Linked DNA regions of Homo sapiens: region 1 is linked to region 2. Evidence: promoter capture Hi-C in human tissues and cell types (Jung and others, 2019). All regions are on one chromosome and are shown on one strand. Each heading gives the region's core, a stretch centred on a gene start or on the middle of the fragment in contact. The rest is flanking DNA. Distances are from core to core; before and after follow the strand shown. Region 1 overlaps FAM163B (family with sequence similarity 163 member B). Region 2 holds the start of VAV2 (vav guanine nucleotide exchange factor 2).

Region 1 (2,700 bases), core at 90-2,589, 400 kb after region 2:
ATCTAGTCTGAGGTTAATTCCATCCACTGCATTTTTCATCTTAGGCATTGTCATGTTTTCATCTCTAGAAGTTCGGTTGGTTCTTTTTCCTATCTTCTATGTCTCTACTTCATATGCTCAAGTTTTCCTCTGGTGTTTTGAACATATAAGCTACAGTTAATAACTATTTTAATACCCTTGTCTCCTAATTCTATCATCTGTGCCACTTCGGGGTTAGTTCCAATGAATTGATTTTCTGTTCACTGTGGTTTGTATTTTTCTGCTTCTTTCCATGCCAGGTAATTTGTTACTGGATGCCAGATATTTTGAATTCCACTTCATTGTTATATTGCAATACATATTTGTGATGTCTGTTCTGGGATGCAGCTCAGTTATTGGGAAATAGTTTGATCCTTTCAGGCCTTGCTTTTAAGCTTTGTTAGGCAAGTCTAGAGCAGCTCTACCCAGTGCTTCATGAATTAGAACCTTCCCTGATTGGTGGGAAGAGGAACTATTTCTGGACCTGTGAGAGCTTCAAATATTGTTCCCTGGAATCCTATCAGCTAGTTCTTTCTCTGGCCTCAGGTAGTTTTGCTCACATTTGAGTCACTGTTCAGCCAGCTACTCATGGGGGACCCTCTGCAGAGCCCTGTGGCTCCACGGTCCCCCACGGAGCAGCAGGCTCCTCCCCAGTTCTGTGTCCTGTGACCTCCGGCTACTTTGGCCTCCTTGGGCTATCATCTCTCTCTGCAACTCAGGGAGAGCAGCGGGCTGCACCTGAGCTCCCTGCACCATAGCCTGGGATTCCAGCTGGAGGGAGCTGGGGCCACCACAGGGCCCTCCTTGTCTCTCCCCCATGGCTTGAGGAGTGCTTTCCTTCATCACTGGTGTCACCTTCAAGCAGGAGGGCAAGCCTGGGCCCCATTACCCCATCTTGGCTGAAACTCTGGCTAATGCTGCTTTGCACGACAAGGGTGAGCCACCCCCGCCCCCGCCCACCAGTTATGGGGAGACTTCTACTGTCATCTCCATTTTATCAAACTGAAACATGGAGGAACGAAGAAACTTAGCCAAGGTGATGCACAGCCCAGATTCAAGTGGCAGCCACCGTGCTGCTCCCAGACAGGAGCATGGCAAACTCGGGGGCTCCCCGCACAGCCGCCCGGGCCAGAAGCCTCTGGTTTCCCAGGACTCCTCCCTGCTCCCCATCAAACCACCAACAAGCCCTATTGGTGCTCCCTCCCACTCATCCCCCCATCCCCTTCTCTCCAGCCCACCACCTCCTCCCTCTTGATGACCATGACAGCCTCTGAACGGCTTCCTCCCACTCTGCCTCCACACCCACCCCACCATGCCTGCCTTGCACCCGCAGCCACAGAGCCACTACCAAAAGCAGAACCAGTCCAGTTACTCTCCTGGCCAGCCCCCTTCTGACCCTTGCCCTGAACACATTCACTTCTCATTCGGCTGAGAGTCACCAGGTGCCCACCATGGGCCCAGGACACCATTCCAGGCACCAGAATAAAGAGACCGAGCCCCTGTCCTCAGCAACTCAAATTCCAGAGGGAAGAAACAGACAGTAAATGAACATATAATATGCCAAGTATGGGGTAAAGGTACAAACCAGGCAGGTTAAGGGGGTGGAGAGCAACCATGGAGCAGGGGATATTTTTGATATGTGGCCTGGAAGCTGTAAAGTGGGGGAAGCCACTGTGGGAAGGGTGGAATGGGAACGGGTGGACATGGGGAAGGAAGGGGAACCTGAGGCCTGACCCTGGGCCCCTTCACACTTAGAGGTCAGGAGAGTAGGAGAAGCCAGCCAAGGAGGGAGGGGGAGATCGGGGAGAGCACAATGCCCCAGAAGCCAAGGGCTACAGCCCCTTGTCCTCAAAGTGTGGTCCGAGGATGCCGCACCAGCAGCACCAGATGCTTGTTAAAAATGCACAGTCCTGGCCGGGTGCAGTGGCTCACGCCTGTAATCCCAGCACTTTGGGAGGCCGAGGCAGGAGGATCATCACTTGAGGTCAAGAGTTGGAGGACAGCCTGGCCAACATGGCAAAACCTCGTCTCTACTAAAACCACAAAAATTAGCCGGGTGTGCTGGCATGCACCTGTAGTCCCAGCTACTTGGCAGGTTGAGGCAGGAGAATCACTTGAACCTGGGAGGCAGAGGTTGCAATGAGCTGAGATCGTGCCATTGCACTCCAGCCTGGGTGACAGAGGGAGACTCCGTCTCAAAAACATAACAAACAAAAACAAATGCACAGTCCTGCAGCCCCGCTCCCCAGGCTACTCGATGCACGTTAAAATGTGAGGAAGACTGACCTGGAAAGTGTTTTGGAGAGGAAGGAGCAGCACCAAGCTGTGACAGGGAAGGCAGGGACAGGGCTCCAGGAAGGCTGGCTCAGGCACCAACGCCCTGCTGCCTGCGGGGTCTCTGCTGACCTCGCCCCTCTTGTCTTGTCCCCCTCCTGCTCTTATACTCCAAGCAAGATGGGCTTCTCCAGGTCCTGCCTTGCCCTGCCTGCCTCTGGGCCTTTGCAAGTGCCATTTCCTGCCCAGGGTGCTCTTTCCCATCTTCTCGCTACTCATCCTCAGGTTTCAGCATCTGGGCCCCTCACTCAGGGTCACTTCTCCTGGCTGCCACCCCTGTTAACACTCCCCATTCTTCCTCTCTGCACTCCCGAAATCACCAGTGCACATTCATGTCCCCCCACAGGA
Region 2 (2,700 bases), core at 146-2,645:
GCACCCCAGCCTCCGGGCTGAGCCAGTCTCAGAGAAGGGCTTGGACTTGCCTGGTGTCCCCCAGTGAATCAGCAGTGAAAACCCGCGGTTCCCGGCAGCTGAGCCAGGATCCATATAATTTCAGTTGCAGAATCTGTTTGTCCTTGAAGCCCCTCCTACCGTCACACGTTGCCAGCTGGACAGACCGCGCCCCCACCACCCAGGGTGTGGCCTAGAAGGGAGATCAGGGCGGATCAGCACCGGGGCCGGCTGCGACCCTGGGCCGGAGAGCACCTTCCTGCCCTCACTCATGTCACGCATTCCGCCCTGGACGCCAGGAACTGCCCGCTGGGCAGCTGCGAGTGGCCAGGACTTTGGCCAAAAGCTGGGGAATCCTGGCCTTTATGCAGGGTCGGGGGTCTTCCTATGGGCCCCCGGCCAGGGCGGAGGACAGGAAGAGGGCTCTGGGAGTCCTGGGCCCGTGTGCCTTCAGCCTCAGCCTCGGGTATCCCGCCGGGGCGGCTTGATGGGCCAAGGGGGCTCAGTAAGCTTCGGCCCAGCCCGGTGCCCTCTCCCGAGTCTGTCGTTACCGAACGGCCATGCGAGGGCGCCCAGCGCGACAGGGACCACCTCCTGACCTCCACGGAGGACCAAAGGCACCCGGGGGGACGCCCGGCCATCACTCCACGGGCGAGGTCGCTCCCCCAGGGAGAAGGGCTCCCCAAAGTCCGAGCGCCCTTGGAGAAAGTCGGCCGGACCTGGGCCTGCGCCGCAACCCCCGCCCACCGCAACTTTCGCGGGCGGTAGCGGGGCAGGAAGTGGGGGGGCGGGGGCGGCGCTTGGGACACGGGGAGGTGCCAGGCGAGTGCTCCGGCCCCGCCCCTGCCCCGCCCGGCCGTGGCCGCGCCCCCTGCGCCCCCAGCGCCCCGGAGCCGTGGAGCCGCCGAGCCGCCGAGTCGTCGAGTCGCAGCGCCGGGCGTGGGGACTGCGGGTGGGGCGAACAAAGCGGCGGCGACGCGGGCGGCCCAGGCCCGGGACGCGCGGAGCGAGCGACCCCGCCGGGCCTTTGTCTCGGGCGGGGCAGGAGCCGCGGCGGCCGCGGGGCGCCCCGAGCGCAGAATGCGGCGCCCGGCGGCGCGGATTGGGGAGCGCTGCGGCGACTGGCTGCGTGGAGCCCGGCCCGGGGCCCGCAGGCACTTGCGTGTGTGAAGCGGGGAGATCCGGCGCGCTGCCCGTTGCCCGCCCCGCGGCCGCACGTGGGCGGGAGCGGCGGCCCGAGAGGAGCCCGAGGAGTAGGAGGAGGAAGAGGAGGGGACGCACGGCGGCGCAGCGGGGGACCTGGGGCAGCCCGCGCGAAGCCCCGCCCCGGCCCTGAGCCCCGCGCGCGCGCGGGCGGGATGCCCCGCGGCCGCTGCACTTTGGCTCGAGCACTGCCCTGAGCCGGTCGGGCCCGCGGGCGCCATGGAGCAGTGGCGGCAGTGCGGCCGCTGGCTCATCGATTGCAAGGTCCTGCCGCCCAACCACCGGGTGGTGTGGCCCTCGGCCGTGGTCTTCGACCTGGCGCAGGCGCTGCGCGACGGGGTCCTTCTGTGCCAGCTGCTGCACAACCTCTCCCCCGGCTCCATCGACCTCAAGGACATCAACTTCCGGCCGCAGATGTCCCAGGTGAGCGCCCGGCGGGCGGGAGGGCCCCGGGGAGGCGGCGTTCGCGCTGCCCGACGCGCGGACTGAACGCGGAGGTCGCAGCGGCGGCGGCCCAGGCGCCCTGGCTGGGGCGGCCGGGCTCCGGGACGCGGGCGGGCGGCTGGAGGGTGCGCCCCGGGCCTCCGAGACGCGACCTCAGGAGGCGCGAAGTTGGCCAAAGTCCCCTCAGCCTGGGTCGCGCCGCCGCCGCCCGCGGGCACTGCTCTGGTGCGCCGGTTCCGCGGTCTGCGCGGCCTGGGATGGGGGAGGCTCCGGCGCTGCGCTCGCTCTGCGGGGCCCTGCGAGTGGCCCCTCATTTCCCAGGGAGCCTGCCGAGCCGGGTGTGCGCGTCGTGGGTCGCATCCTTGGGCCTCGCGCCTCCTGGCCGGACGCCGGTGGAAGAGCGGGCGCGGTCGCTGCGCCGGCCCGGGGCGCGGCTGGAGGGCCCGGGAGGGGCGCGGGGCGGGAGCCCTCGGGGCCGGAGGGAGCTGGGTTGGCCCCGGGCACCGCCCCCTCGCCGGCCTCCGCCTCTTCCCGGACCCGGACCCGGGCCACTTGGCGCCAGTCCTGGCTCCCGGGTCGAGCCGCCTCGAGGATCCCCAGGGCCACTTGGCCCCAGTCCTGGCCCCCATCGCTTTCCCAACACCCCCACCCCTCCTTCGGGCGCTGAGTGTGGCCTTTGTCGCGGCGGAGGCACGCGTGCGGCCGCAGGGCCAGGCAGGAAAATGCCTGCCCAGCCGAACGAAGCTGCTTTTCTTGGCCTCTTAAGAGGGAACTTGGCTAAGACTTGAGAGAATCGAGGCTTCCGTCCTGTTCTCCGGGGGTCGCGGAATCCTTACCGGGAGCAGCTTAGAAGAGGTCGGGGGAGGCAGAGCGGGTGGCAGCCGGGTCCACCCAGCGCCGAGGAGGTGCGGTCTTCCAGCCAGCTCAGCAGCCCCTCACCGCGCGCAGTGGCAACTCCATGTGGAGAGGGACCATTCACCAGTGGGACTTAGGACGTGGTTCCTGGGAAGGAGGGAGAGTGAGTCACCAGCGATT

The links. The method cuts DNA at HindIII sites, captures the fragments that hold promoters and counts their contacts. A contact is called where the count stands out against the background at its distance.
Region 1: a fragment that was not itself captured here is called in contact with the fragment with the promoter of VAV2 in region 2 in 1 of the 25 tissues and cell types used here (mesendoderm cells).

What each region holds. Positions count from the first base shown.
Region 1 is chr9:133,594,679-133,597,378 of GRCh38, reverse strand. All of the region lies in intron 1 of FAM163B (family with sequence similarity 163 member B), which reads left to right. Among named protein-coding and RNA genes, the nearest start is that of FAM163B, 13 kb to the left of the region's middle. The HindIII fragment of the contact is 4,184 bases long and covers 1-2,700 here.
Region 2 is chr9:133,991,019-133,993,718 of GRCh38, reverse strand. VAV2 (vav guanine nucleotide exchange factor 2) reads left to right here and starts at 1,395. Exons shown (of 30, transcript NM_001134398.2): 1 at 1,395-1,644. The coding sequence starts at 1,441. RefSeq lists enhancers at 83-272, 169-896, 1,625-2,352, 2,353-2,700 and silencers at 683-992, 1,093-1,192, 1,253-1,402, 1,673-1,762, 1,803-2,242. The HindIII fragment of the contact is 15,000 bases long and covers 1-2,700 here.